Linked DNA regions of Homo sapiens: regions 2 and 3 are each linked to region 1. The links are contacts of gene promoters, found by promoter capture Hi-C in human tissues and cell types (Jung and others, 2019). All regions are on one chromosome and are shown on one strand. Each heading gives the region's core, a stretch centred on a gene start or on the middle of the fragment in contact. The rest is flanking DNA. Distances are from core to core; before and after follow the strand shown.

Region 1 (4,650 bases), core at 520-3,019:
GGGCCAGGGAGAGTTTTACCACGCCTTCTCTCAGGCCCTCAGCTTCCTCATCGACACAATCGGGGCCTCTGAGGCTCCTTCCTTTTCTAACAGGAGTCTCGGATGTCCCACCCACCCATCACCCAGGGCCCCTCGGGGTTTTCCCTCCAGCTGGCAGCCACCCGGCCTGCTGCTTGCTGGAATGCCCTCTTCCCGCGCTCCCCTTACATCAAGCTCCATCTCTTCTAAAGAGCCTCCAGGGAGCCCCCAGGGGCTGCGAAGGCTCCTGGTGCCAACACTGAGCTCTGCGCCTCCCCACACCATCTCCAACCCCACGAGGTGCCCAGGCCGTGCCCAGCACCGCCTGAACAATCAGAGCTCCACAGGGCTCTGCTGCAGCCAGCCAGTCAAGAAAGCTCTGTAGAGCTCAGCTCCCAGCCTCCCCTCCCCCTCCAGCCCCCTTCAGCCCCCTTCCTGGAATCCCCCAGTGAGCATTAGTTGGGACAAGCGACCTTTTGACTAACAAAGGCGGTCACCAGAGGTTAAAAGGAACTCAACTAAACCAGGGATTAAGACTCGGATTCTGAGGGTGGTCTAGGGCACTCCCCTGGACCTGGGCCACTGGAGAAACAAAGACGCCAGGAGTGCCGGGCCTGGCTAGTGGCTCTGAGAAGCCACGGGTCAGCAGAGAGGTCACAGGTCATAGCTCTGCCGCCCAGCAGCTGCTCTGATCAGAGGACCTCGTGGCAGTCCCCCCAGGGACCAGGCCTTGAGGGTTAGAGGGGAGAAAAGCGCGGGCTGGGTGGGCACTGTCCCGGAGCTGTCAGTCCCAGAGTTGGGGCCTAAGGTCTGGGCCATCGATCAGATCTGCTCTTGGAAAACTCCATCCCCCTTGCCGTTGGTGGAAGTGACCAGTCCCCAGTCCCCGCTGAGCACCGAGCCCGGCAGAACCACTGCCTTGGGCCCTCTGTCCCGGGAGGGAGGCAGGGAGGAGGTGGCCAGGTCCGCATCCCCTCCATCCTCCCAGCTACGCCCCAAAAACCTCCAGGCTGCTCCCTGGCTTTCTCATTTCTTCCTCTCCAGCCCCTATCCCAGGACCGCTAGTGTCTCCTGGGGAAAAGACTGCTTCCCACCCTCCAGGCTCAAGTTTCACATCCGCAAGCTGGGTACAACAGCTCCTACCTGGGGGTGGAGGCGGGAAGCGGTGAGGAAAGATAGCCGAGGGCGCTTCCAGCGTCAAGTGCAAGGCGCCCTGGGCTCGGTAACCCCCAGCCAGCGTCCCCCAGCCCAGCTAGCGCCCCTGAACCCCCAGGGCCCGGGATGCGGCCCCCGGAGCCGGCTGGATTTGCTAGGACTGGGGTAGGACGGTGTGTTTGAGGGGTGGGGGAATCCGGTTTTGAAACAAGTCCCCAGGCCGGGGAGGAGATGAGGACCGGAGCTGGCCGTGGGGGAGGGGGGCGTCGCCGAGGCCTCGGCGCTGACAGTCCGGGGGCGCCGCGCAGGGCAACGCACGGACTCCGAGTCCCCGTGGTTCCGAAACTCGCAGGGAGCGCGAGGCCGAGGGGGTCGGGACCCTAAGCTGGGGCGGCGGACCCGGGACGCCCCTACCTCCGGCCGCCAGCAGCGCAAGGCCGCCGAGCAGCAGCAGCGGAAGCGGGACCCGGCGCGACGGCGCGGCGCGCTCCATGGGCGGCGGGCGACGGGCGGTGGGCGGCGGCGGACAAAGGCGCGGGCGCGGTCCTGGGGCAGCGGCGCGGGCTCCACGCTCCGGCCGAGCCTCGGCAGCCAACGCTGGGCCAGGGCCGCGCCGTTCAATTATCCCGCCCGGGAGGAGGGCGCGGCGGAGGCGGGGCCGCGGGTCTCCTGGTCCTCCCTCCCCGGCGCCCCCTGCCGGGACCCTCCCTCCCCGGACCCCGGCTGCGAGGGGCGCGCGCCCACGGCTGGGGGCGAGGGCCTGGATCCCAGACTTCCCCGGAGGGGGCACAGAGGGGGCGCCTTCGGGCCGGATGCCCCCAGTCCTATCCCCCAACACTCCGTGAAACCCGATCCCCTCCTCCCCCCACCCCCTCTCGAGGGGAGGGCTCGGGATCAAAGGTTATCCCCGCCCGACTCCGCGCGGAGGAGCGGGGACCCGGGCCTGCAGTCGGAGGCCCGGCTGCTGGGGGGCACTGGGGCAGGCCTTACCGCCAACCCCGCACCCTCGGCCGGGAGGCTGCAGGTCGGTGGCTAACCCCAGGCGTGTCCCGGGATGGGACCCGACTCTGCCCTCAGAGACAGGGACAGTCGGGCCAGGCCAACAAACAACCAAAATCCCAACGTGTGCTGGGCTCACCCGGGACACCAGGGCCGGAGGGAGAGACCCGGGAAGTCACCGAGGCTGCAGGGGAGGCAGCTTTGGCGCTGGGCCTGCGGGAGCCTCTTGTATAGGAATTCATAGCTACCGGGGTTACTGAGGATGAGTTAGGCTTTGGAACCACAAGTAGATTTATTTTCCAAAGAAGAAGAATAAAATGGTGCAGGTGAAGATGCGGAGGAACTGGATGAGACGCATAGGAACGCCACTGGGCAGCTCAAAGCGGTGTTCCTGTGAGTTCACCATGGACCCCTTGAGCCACCGACGCCCCGCCCAGCCTTACACTCAGCAGAAACGCATACAACATGTGCTCCAAAAGACAGAAAGACATGTAGCCGCACATTCATAATTCCTCCAATTGGGAAGCCTAGCGTCATCAAGGCAGATGAATATCGTGGAGTATTCGGGCTTAGGAGCACGACAAACGGAACAGGAGTGAATGATCCGCAACTCACATAACGGGTAAATCTCACAGACGTAAGTCAGAGTAATAGAGTCAGCCACAAAGGAACACTCGCTGCATGATTCCATTTACATAAAAGGCAAGAACAGGCCGGTGGCGGTGGCTCACACCTGTAATCCCAGCACTTTGGGAGGATGAAGTGGGCGGATTGCCTGAGGTCAGGAGTTCGAAACCAGCCTGGCCAACATGGTGAAACCCTGTCTCTACTAAAAATAAAAATAAAAATAAATTAGCCAGGCATGGTGGTGCACACCTGTAGTCCCAGCTACTCGGGAGGCTGAGGCAGGAGAATCGCCTGAACCCGGGAGACGGAGGTTGCAGTGAGCCGAGATCTCACCACTGCACTCCAGCCTGGGCGGCGGAGTGAGACTCCGTCTCAAAAAAAAAAAAAAAAAAAAAAAAAGGCAAGAACAGTTCAGAGGTCAGGAGAGTGGTGATCCTGGAGTGGGAGCGTGCTGGGCTTTCGGGGGCTGGTTAGGTTCAGCTTTCTTACTCTGGGTATTGGTTACAAGGTTGGGCTCAGTTTGTGAGAATTTATTGAGCTGTTCATTTATGGTACGTGCCCTTTTCTGAATACATGTTGTTTCTTTCTGTTTTTTTGAGATGGTGTTTTGCTTTTGTTGCCCAGGCTGGAGTGCAGTGGCGCAATCTCAGCCCACTGCAACCTCCACCTCCCGGGTTCAAGCGATTCTCCTGCCTCAGCCTCCTGAGTAGCTGGGACTACAGGCATGCACCACCACGCCTGGCAAATTTTGTATTTTTAGTAGAGACGGGGTTTCTCCGTGTTGGTCAGGCTGGTCTTGAACTCCCGACATCAGGTGATCCACCCGCCTTGTCCTCCCAAAGTGCTGAGATTACAGGCGTGAGTCACCGTGCCCGGTCACATGTTAAATTTTAAAATGAAAAACAAAAGGACAAGAACTCATCTCCCCACAGGGTGTCTTATAAGTTTGAAGTTTGCAGAGAGCCCAGGAAAGCTTACCAAGGGGACCAGCATGCTCACGCCTCTGAGGTTAAGGAGGCCCCTCAGGAAGAGGTGACATGCGACTGGCCAGTGAAAGGTGAGCAGAGGTGGGAAGGGTTTCCTTGGTGGTGCCAGCTTTCCTGATGTCTCTGCAAAAGTTTGGAGGCACCAGAGATCCTGGTCCGTTTTGACTTTGGATGGGGTGGGGTGCGGAAACAGCACATCAGCAGATGGCCCGAGGGAGGCATTTCTGAGTTGGAACAGGTTGGGAACTCATTACTACTTTGGTATTAACTTAATTCGTTTAAGCCATCGGAGAATGGGGTGCCCTGGAAGGAGTCTAGATGACTAAGGGAAGGTGGTGGAGGGCGAAGGGGGAACCAGGGGACCTGGGGGATTCAGAAAGAAGACGTAGAAACAGGCAGAGGGGTAGAAGGAAACCAGGAGAAGGCAATATCCAAGAAGGAATCAAAAAGTGATTCTGGGCAGGGCGTGGTGGCTCATGCCTGTAATCCCAACACTATGGGAGGCCGAGGTGGGTGGATCACTTGAGGTCAGGGGTTCGAGACCAACCTGGCCAATATGATGAAACCCCATCTCCACTAAAAATACAAAAATTAGCTGGGCATCGTGGTGCATGCCTGTAGTCCCAGCTACTTGGGAGACTGAGGCAGGAGAGTTGCTTGAACCCTGAAGGCGGAGGTTGCAGTGAGCCAAGATTGTACCACTGCACTCCAGCCTGGGTGATAGCAAAAAAAAAGTGATTCTGGCTGGGACTGCCCAGTGTGGCCCAGTGCTCAGTGAAGCCAGGACTGAGAAGTCCCAATGGGGATGGAGCAGGTGGCCGCTGGCGATGTGACCGGGGCCCTTTCTGGGGATGGGGAGGGAGTG
Region 2 (4,643 bases), core at 1,286-3,785, 36 kb after region 1:
AAAACAAGCCCAAACTAAAAAAGAAAAGAAATATGCATATGTTAAAGACTATCATTATCTCACCGAGACTGAACCCTGAAATCAAAACTGAGACATTCCCCAGAGAACGTGTGTGCTTTTTATGGCAGGCTTTATTCGTGCCTAATCTCTTTTTGCACATGAAAATCACTTTAATAAAACTTCCCCACACATTCGCATTCTAGAAAGAGAGCGTTTGTTGGTGATTCTGAGGTCTTATAACTTCATTTTGATGCCAGGGGATATTTGAAATATGTTTTTAAAACTTTAATGGAAAATGAAACAGATCATAAAGATAGGAGATCTACTTTAGAGGGTCAAGTAAAAATTTGTTCATAGTTAAACAGAATTCATAATGCTTTAGAACTGAACCAAAAACAATTGTTTCTAAACGCTGAAGTCACCACCGAGACTCAAAACCTGGAGCTGGGCTGCCTGGATCCTTCTCTGCTGCAGCAATAGAATATTTCAACTGCTTTTTAAAAACACCACACAGTAATGACTCATTGATCAAGTGAGTTGGAACGAATCTGGAAAATGCCAGTTCCCCGTGAGCAATTGCCCTCCCCAACCCCCCCCGCAATACTGAAGCTTACCACTTCCAGTGACAAGCCTTTGTTCGTTTTGTCAATTTCGAATGGAAAGATTTCCAAAATATAGAAATATCCTTGCTGATACAGTTGGGATATTTGTCCCCACCCGTATCTCATGTTGAATTGTAATCCCCAATGTTGGAGGTGGGGCCTGGTGGGAGGTGTTTGGATCATGGCGGCCAATTTCTCATGAATGGCTTGGGCTATCCCCTTGCTGATAAGTGAGTTCTAACCCCGAGTTTATACAACATCTGGTCATTTAAAAGTGTGTGGCACCTCCCCTTCTTCTCTCTCTCTTTCTCTCTCACCTTTCTGCTTTTGCCATGTGACGTGCCTGCTCCCCTTCACCTTCTGCCATTATTTTAAGCTTTCTGAGCTTCCTGCGTATGATGTACATTGGTTCGGTCCTGTAAGGTGGGACAACTCGAAGTGGGGGCTTCCAGGTTAAAGGTAGACAAGAGACAAAAGGTTGCATTCTTTTGAGTCCTTGACCAGTCTTCCACTGAATACACAATTTAGTCCCGTTCAGTGAATCTGCATTTTTACATAAACGATAGGGAAGAGGAAGCAATCAGATAGGCATTTGTCTCAGGTGAGCCTCAGAGGGATGACTTTGAATGGAATGGGAGGCAGCTTTGTCCTAAGCAGTTCCCAGCTTGACTTTTTCCTTTAGTTTAGTGATTTGGGGGTCCCAAGATTTATTTTCCTTTCACTCACAGAAATCCTTAATGTGATATGATCAAATCAAATCCAGAAATATACAAAAAGGACAATCCATCATGACCAAGTCAGACTGATCACAGAAATTCAAGGTTGGTTTAACACTTGAAAATCAATCAGTGTAAGTCACCACGTTGCCATAAATCATGTAATCATTTCAATATATGCAGATGATATGGTTTGGCTCTATGCTCCCACTCAAATCTCATCTCCAATCGTAATCCCTACATGTTGAGGGAGGGACCTGTAATTCCCACATGTGGAGGGAGGAAGGTGAATGGATCATGGGGCCGGTTTCCCTCGTGCTGTTCTCGTGATAATGAGGGAGTTTTCACGAGATCTGATGGTTTTTTAAGTGTTTGGAAGCTCGTCCTTCATCCTCCTCTCTCCTGATGGCTTGTGAAGAAAGTACTTGCTTCCCTGTCACCTTCCTCCATAGTGTTAAGCTTCCGGAGGCCTCCCCAGCCAGGCTGAACTGTGAGTCAATTAAACCTCTTTCCTTTACAATTTACCCACTCTCAGGTAAGTTCTTTATGGCAGTGGGAAAATGAACTAATACAGCAGAAAAAACACTTGACAAAATTCAACAATCATTGATGCTTAAAAGGTCTCCATAGGCCAGGTGCGGTGGCTCACGCCTGTAATCCCAGCACTTTGGGAGGCCGAGGCCAGTGGATCACCTGAGGTCAGGAGTTCAAGACCAGCCTGGAAAATGCAGTGAGACCCCATTTCTACTAAAAATACAGGCTGGCATGTTGGCTCACTCCTGTAATCCCATCACTTTGGGAGACCAAGGCGAGTGGATTGCCTGAGGTCAGAAATTCAAGACCAGCCTGGCTAACATGGTGAAACCCCATCTCTACTAAAAATACAAAAATTAGCCAGGCATGCTGGCAGGCACCTGTAATCCCAGCTACTCGGGAGGCTGAGGCAGGAGAATTGCTTGAATCCGGGAGGCAGATGTTGCAGTGAGCCAAGATCGTACCATTGCCCTTCAGCCTGGGTGACAAGATTGAGACTTAGTATCAAAAAACAAAACAAAACAAAACAAAACCCAAAAATTAGCCAGGGTTAATGGCGGGTGGCTGTCATCCCAGCTACTCGGGAGGCTGAGGCTGGAGAATCGCTTGAATCCAGGAGGTGGAGGTTGCAGTGAGCTGAGATTGCACTATTGCACACCAGCCTGGGCAACAAGAGCAAAACTCCGACTCAAAAAAGAAAAAGTCTCAATAAACTGGAATGAAAAGGAACTCTTGAACCTGGTCAAGGCGGTCCACATAGACTGACAGTGAACATGCTCAAGGAATGCAGGAAACAGCTGAGTTGTCAGTTCTGTATTTTTAGTAGAGACAGGGTTTCACCATGTTGTCCAGGCTGGTCTTGAACTCTTGACCTCAGGTGATCCGCCCACCTCAGCCTCCCAGAGTGCTGGGATTACAGGCGTAAGCCACCATGCCTGGCCTCTTTTTCTTTTTAAATTATACAGATACAATTTAAAATAGAGATGGGGTCTCACTATGTTGCCCAGGCTGGAGGCTTTTTTTTCTAATATGTGCATTTATTGCTATAAATTTCCCTCATGATATTGCTTTAGCTGTGTCTCACAAATTTTAATATGTTGTATTTTCATTTGTATTCAATTTAATGTGTTTTTCTTACTTCCCTTGAGACTTCCTGTTTGACCCATAGATTGTCTAGAAGTGTGTTGTTGAGTTTCTAAGTATGTGGAGGTTTTCCTGTTATCTTTTTGCTATTAATTTCTTGTTGGATTCTATGTGATTAGAGAGCATACCCTCATGATCTCTCAATTCTTGAAAATTTGTTAAAGTTTGTTTTATGGTCCAAGATATGGTCTATCTTGGTGTATGTTCCCCAGCACCAATTGCTGAAAAGATACCTGAAATGTGAAAGCAGCTTTGGAACTGGGGAACAGGCAGAGATTGGAACAGTTTGGAGGGATCAGAAGAAGACAGGAAAATGTGGGAAAGTTTGGAACTTTCTAGGGACTTGTTGAAAAGCTTTGCCCCAAATGCTGACAGCGATATGGACAATAAAGTCCAGGCTGAGGTGGTCTCAGATAGAGATGAGGAACTTGTTGGGAACTGGAGCAAAGGTGACTCTTGTTATGTTTTAGCAAAGAGACTGGCAGCATTTTGCCCCTGCCCTAGAGATTTGTGGAACTTTGTACTTGAGGGAGATGACTTAGGGTATCTAGCAGAAATTTCTAAGCAGCAAAGCATTTAAGATGTAACTTGGATGCTGTTAAAAGCATTTGATTTTAAAAGTGAAACAGAGCATAAAAGTTTAGAAAACGTGCAGCCTGACAATGCAATAGAAAAGAAAATCCCATTTTCTGAGGAGAAATTCAAGCAGGCTGCAGACATTTGCGTAAATAACGAGGAGCCAATTGTTAATCCCCAAGACAATGAGGAAAATATGAAAAGAACATATGTTCTGCTCTTGTTGGGTGGAGTGTTCTATAAATATTGTTGAGATACTGTTGGTTGATGTTTCTGTTGAGTTTTCTTATTCTATATCTTTGTTGATATTCTGCCTGATTAGTCTATAATTTATTGAGAGAGGGGTATTAAAGTCTCCAAGTATAATTCTTGATTTATCTATTTGTCCTTCCAGTTTTTTTTTTTTTTTTTTTTTTTTTTTTTTTTTTTTTTTTTTTTTGAGGGAGAATCTCACTCTGTCACCCAGGCTGGAGTGGAGTAGCATGATCTCGGCTCACTGCAACCTCTGCCTCCTGGGTGCAAGTGATTCTCCTGCCTCAGTCTTCTGAGTAGCTGAGATTACAGGCACTCGCCACCATGCTTGGCAAATTTTTTTTTTTTTTTTTTTTTGAGACGGAGTCTTGCTCTGTTGCCAGGCTGGAGTGCAATGGCACGATCTCGGTTCACTGCAACCTCTGCCTCCCGGGTTCAAGCGATTCTCCTGCCTCAGCCTCCCGAGTGGCTGGGATTACAGGCGTGTGCCGCCACGCCTGGCTAATTTTTTGTATTTTTAGTAGAAACGGGGGTTTCACCATGTAGGCCAGGCTGGTCTCGAACTCCTGACCTCAGGTGATCCGCCCAGCTTGGCCTCCCAAAGTGCTGGGATTACAGGTGTGAGCCACTGCGCCTGGCCCCAGCTTTTGATTCTCGTATTTTGCAGCTCTCTTCTTTGATGTTTACACATTTAGGATTGCTATGTCTTCTTGTGGACTGGCTCTTTTATCATTATATAATGTCCTCTCTGTCTCTGGTAATTTTCTTTGCTCTGAAGTCCACTTTATCTGGTATTAATATAGCCACCTGCTCTCCTTTG
Region 3 (5,097 bases), core at 1,735-4,234, 49 kb before region 1:
ATATTCCATATATATATTCCATTTTATATATATATATATATATTCCATTTTATATATATATATATATGTATATTCCATTAGTTCTGTCCCTCTAGAGAACCCTAATACAGGTCCAAACTTCTTGTGGTGGAGACAGAGACGGGTCCCAACCTCCTGCGGTGGAGACACGGACGGGTCCCAACCTCCTGGGGTGGAGACGGGGACGGGTCCCAACCTCCTGCGGTGGAGACGGGGACGGGTCCTAACCTCCTGCGGTGGAGACGGGGACGGGTCCTAACCTCCTGCGGTGGAGACGGGGACGGGTCCTAACTTCCTGTGGTGGAGACGGGGACGGGTCCTAACTTCCTGTATAGGATGAGCACAGATTCCAACTTCCTGTTACAGATTCTAACCTCCTGTGACAGGATGGAGATCGGTATTATCTTCCGCTACAGGATAGTAACAAGTTCTAATTTCTTGTCACAAGATGGGACAGGGGTCGTCTCCTGTGTACTGAACTCCTGGCCCATCATACTCTGAAGGTGGCTGCCTGAGGAAGCAGGGCCCAGGTGCGGAGCCCCAGAGGACCTGGCCCAGGTGCTCCAGGAAGCCCTGCCATCTGGGCTGTGTCTGGATTCTGAGGTCAGGAGCATCCTCTCGTCCTGGCCTTCTATCACATCTCCCTTTTGGCTTTTTAAGTTTCCATGTCTCGTGCTGGGTTACTTGGACTTGCTTGAGGCATTTATCGAGACTGGGGTCTCCTTTTACCTCCTCTTTCCAGGTTTGTCAGGACTGACAGGAGGCCTTGCATTTACTTGGCTAGTGATCATTCCAAGCTCTTAGAAAGGACTGGCCTGGGAGTCAGGGGCACTGAACGGGGGAGTCCTGCCTGGGAGGGGCCCAAAACAGAGGCAGGAAAGAAGGTGGGCACGGGTGCTGCTGGCGGTGGCCTGCCCCAGAGATGCCCAGGTCCAGGCCAAACGGGAGTGCTCCAGGCGATCTGAGAGCTCTCCCCCAGGGGGGCCTCTGAGGAGCTATGACCAAAGCGTCCGTGAACTGGGGGAGGAGCATGGGACCCATGAGCTGTGCTTCCGGGTGCAGGTGAACTGCGCTTCCGGGTGCAGGGAGCAGGCTGCAAGCAGCAGACTTTCCTTCCACTCGCTCCCTCCACTGTCTCCCATCGTCCTCCCGCTCTACTGGCTGGAAGACAGACGCCCATTGAGGATGCAGAACTTGCTGATAGCTCCGTGGTGTGTCGTAAGGGGCAAGCTTGGCTTTCAAAGTCGGCCTGTCTTACTTCAAAGCTTTTACACACACAATGTATGCACACACACAAGCACGCGCACACGCACACACACCAGCAACTTCAGGACCAGCCTGGATGGGGCTGGTCAGCAGGTGGCGCTAGAGTCGCCCTGGTGGGATTTCGGCTTCCCGCTTCTCTCAGCATGGCGGGTACTAACCAGGGATGGAATTTGTTTTGCCAGAGGGAAGCGGAGGAAAGCAATGGGAGGTGTGCGTGGTGTTCTGGTGCAGCTCCCGCCGTCATCACACACAGCGACTGGTCACTCCTCCCCTGGAGGCTCCCCCTCCGACCCCACACAGTCATTCCTCAGAGCACCCCAAAACCTTCTCTACACTAGGAGTTTCTGGGCTGGCTCCTTCTGGACAAAGAGCAGGGCCTGGGGCACCCGCTATGTGCTTTGCAAATGACTAATGCACAAAAATAAACATGTCCTTGATTTTCCTGGTAAGTCCTGGCTTCAATGATCGTACTTCGCTCTACTCAAACTTTTTAAAACACCAGAAACATAACTGTCTGGCAAACTGCCTGTCAGACTGGGAACGGCCCAAAAATCCCTTTTAGCCAGTGTGTCTAGGTCAGGGACGGGTTGTCATCACTGAATGTATTACAGAGCAGGGCATAGGCGAGCCCGCCCCGTCCCCCCCTGCCACGCAGGCCCTGGTTTCCAGACATGTCCCCTCAGCAGGCCACCCATCCTGGGCCATGTCATGCGTTAGAGGACAATGTGCTCCAACTTGCCAGTTCAACACATTTGACCCTAACACCTCAAGCTCTATGGAAATGATCCTAAGCCACCACACACCAGAGAAAAAAGGCCCTCTAGGCCCCCTCCTTCTCCTGGGAGGCACGGCAGTTCTGGCCACCCCAGGTGCTTGTGGATATCCCTGCCGGCATTTTCCTGACTTTCACACGCTCGTCGTCCGGGAGACAAGCCCCAGGAACTGGCCAAGGCAGGGGGGCCATCGACGGCTCTATCTCTGCCACCGTCCACCGTGTTACACCCTCAGGCCCACAGCTGTTCACTCGTGTCCCATCCCCGGGAAGCGGCAACCAAGGCCACCCGGCTTTGCTCCAGCTTTCTAGACCACAGGTCATCAGGCGCCGGCCCCACTGAGGGGATAAAGAGGATGTGTCCGGCCCCATGAAGGCTGTGGGACAGCTTTGCACACTTCCTCCTGCGGGCAGAAGGGAATTGTGTGGGCAGGACTGTAACAGCCTGGTCCTGTCCACAAGGCCGAGCCCTGTGGTTTGCGGCCCAGCTTCCTGGGTCATGCTCCAGTTACCAGCCCTCGGCCGCCGGGATGTTCCCCAGATGGAAGCCGTCTGAGTGGAGAGAGAGAGAAAGGCACAGCAGCGGACTCTGCAGTCCTGTCTGTCAAGGCTCCCGAAGGAGGCGCTCTTGCTGAGTTGTTAACCACAGAAGCGCCGGCCATGGGTCCCTCCTAAATATGGCTCTTTTAGATTTTAAAAATTGCTTTCTGAAGCTTAGATGAAAAAACGTGTTAAGCAGCTTCGATTTTTGATGAGCAGGAAAAGGGGCTGTAAAATACAAAACTCCAGTCTGAGGGGTTAGCAGTGCTGAGAGGGGGTGGCCCCTCCTCACTATCAGTCCCGGGAGTCCAAGGGCTGGAACAAGCCAGGCGCCCAGCAGCTCAATCCCTTACTGCACAGCACACAGGGCCCAGGTTTCAGGCTGAACTCCCCATTTCACCGCACATGTGTCCATACTCCCGCCGCTTCTGCCTAATTCGCTCCCCCTTCCACCTCCATGCAGGCATGGCCCACTCCAGACAGCCCCCTGCCCACCCTCACGCCCAGCCAGGTGGGGTCCCCTCCTCCCTCCTAGCACACACGCCGAAGGCGGAGCCTGTGCGGGGACAAAGCCCTCTGTGGGCTGTCTACCCAGGTGCCTGCACGCAGTAGGTCCAGGAAGAAACGACTTTCTCCAGCACTGAGGGGTGGCAGAGGCTTCCACAGCCAACATGAGGGGTGGAGCTGGGTTCCCCTGATTTCAGCCATGACCTCAGCACACATGGCCAACCCGCCCACCCTCAGGCTTAGGAGGCGCCAGGGCCCCTGTGCAGGGCAGCCTCCCCCTCTTCGAAAGGTGGTTTCACGACTGTGCGCAAGTTAGAAATCGAGGTCACAACCACAGCCAGCCTCCTGGAATCCTCAAGCCCAGGCGCTGACAAAGGCTGGGGAGAGAGTGAACTTACAATGACAGACGGCTGCACAGCCTGCAGCCAAGGCCATCGAACTTTCTTAATGGCTCAGAGAAGCAGTGTCACTGCCTGGGGCAGGCTGTTGCATAACCATGAGCTCTTCGGGATGCTACAGACTTGCAAACCCAGTTTTGGGGCAGCTTTTTCCTAACCCAAGCTCAGGAAGGAAACAAGATGTTGGGTTTTCAAGCAGACAGAAATCCGTGCTGGGAAACAGGGAAATGGCTGGGCCAGCCAATGAGAATCGCAAAGCCAGGAAGAATATGGAGGGCTGCCAGGGACAACGGGGCTGCTCGGGTACCCAGAAGCCTTGCTATGCCACAAGCCAGGGCAGCTGCCCCTAGGGTCAAGAGGTGGACACTACCACTGACCCTCAGGTCGCGGGGGCAGCTGGCCAAGAGCCCAAGGCAGGCTGAAGGTCAAGGGGCCAAGGCCTCGGAAACAGCTGGCTGCCTGCATCGTGCACTCAGAGTGCTGGGAGAGGTCACAAGTCCACAGTCCTGAGATCGGTCCCAGCATGGAGCTTTTCCTGAAGCAACTGACTGTGGCACTAAATGAGACTTTCTGAATACAATTAGGGGCAAGGGGGATAGGAAGTGGGAACCGTGGTCTCAAGTGGGCGCCGTGATGGCCTAGGAGTGAGTGAGCTTACAAAGACATAGGGGCACGCAGCCCCACGTTTAGGATCTGGAATCTTTGATGCCGTTCCCACACGGTCACCAGGCTGGACGAATTCTGGCTTTCAGGTGGGCACCTAACAACAACGTCCAACAGGTCACATCGGCTCCCTGGCTTTGGGCTGACATGGAGACATTGCTACCTATGCATCTCAGTCAGAGCACGTTCTGACATCTGCATGTTACAGATGAGGAAACTGAGGCCCAGAGAGCTTGCCCAAGGCTTCCACCCTAGGAAAAAAGAGGGCTGTGGTTTCTCCTGGTTCTGTGCACAGCCTTGGCCTGAAAACATGACTATAGACCCCAGACTCATTTGCAGTTACCCCCTTGACTTTCCGAGACCAGTGTCACTAGCATTTAGGGGCTTGAGGGCCAGGGATCAGGTGATCTTTGAGTGCCCTGAGTCCCTCATGGGAGGACACCGAGGTCACAGCCTGATAACCCACCCACCCGGGAACTGGGTCACCAGGAAGGCCAACACAGACAGACGACGATGGCATGGTCCAAGGGACTTACGTGGCTGCGGAGCGGCGGTAGTTCTCAGGGCACTCGAAGGCCAGGCAGCGGAAGCCGCCCTGGATGTTGAAGCAGGTCTCGTTGATGGAGCAGTTGTGGATGCCAGTCACACACTCATCAATGTCTGCAAGAGACCCCACAGCAGCACAGTGAAGGCAGAGGCTGCAGGAGCCATACCCATCTGGAGACGGAGGAGCCCAGGCCTCCCATCAACTAGGGTTAGGGGTGGCGATCAGGCCATCCCTGCCCTCCACTGGCTGATCTTCAGAGCAGCGTCCTGTGCCAGTTCTTACATTTATAGGGTATTTACATTTATAGAGTGTTAACTTATCATTCGCAATCCCTGGAGGGAGCGTGACGATGGTAAAAGTAAACACTACATGATGGGTCCTGGGAG

What was found. The method cuts DNA at HindIII sites, captures the fragments that hold promoters and counts their contacts. A contact is called where the count stands out against the background at its distance.
Region 2: a contact is called between a fragment that was not itself captured here and the fragment with the promoter of FBLN1 in region 1, in 5 of the 25 tissues and cell types used here (bladder, dorsolateral prefrontal cortex, lymphoblastoid cells and 2 more).
Region 3: a contact is called between a fragment that was not itself captured here and the fragment with the promoter of FBLN1 in region 1, in 5 of the 25 tissues and cell types used here (IMR-90 fibroblasts, aorta, bladder and 2 more).

The regions. Positions count from the first base shown.
Region 1 is chr22:45,500,002-45,504,651 of GRCh38, reverse strand. It overlaps FBLN1 (fibulin 1), which reads right to left and starts at 1,769. Exons shown (of 17, transcript NM_006486.3): 1 at 1,588-1,769. The coding sequence starts at 1,666. LOC105373066 (a long non-coding RNA gene) reads left to right here and starts at 3,665. Exons shown (of 3, transcript XR_938305.2): 1 at 3,665-3,856. RefSeq lists enhancers at 1-541, 542-1,155. The HindIII fragment of the contact is 10,534 bases long and covers 1-4,320 here.
Region 2 is chr22:45,464,943-45,469,585 of GRCh38, reverse strand. No RefSeq gene overlaps it. Among named protein-coding and RNA genes, the nearest start is that of FBLN1, 36 kb to the left of the region's middle. The HindIII fragment of the contact is 3,482 bases long and covers 795-4,276 here.
Region 3 is chr22:45,550,219-45,555,315 of GRCh38, reverse strand. It overlaps FBLN1 (fibulin 1), which reads right to left. Exons shown (of 17, transcript NM_006486.3): 14 at 4,701-4,824. Among named protein-coding and RNA genes, the nearest start is that of FBLN1, 50 kb to the right of the region's middle. RefSeq lists an enhancer at 1,360-1,469. The HindIII fragment of the contact is 3,435 bases long and covers 1,267-4,701 here.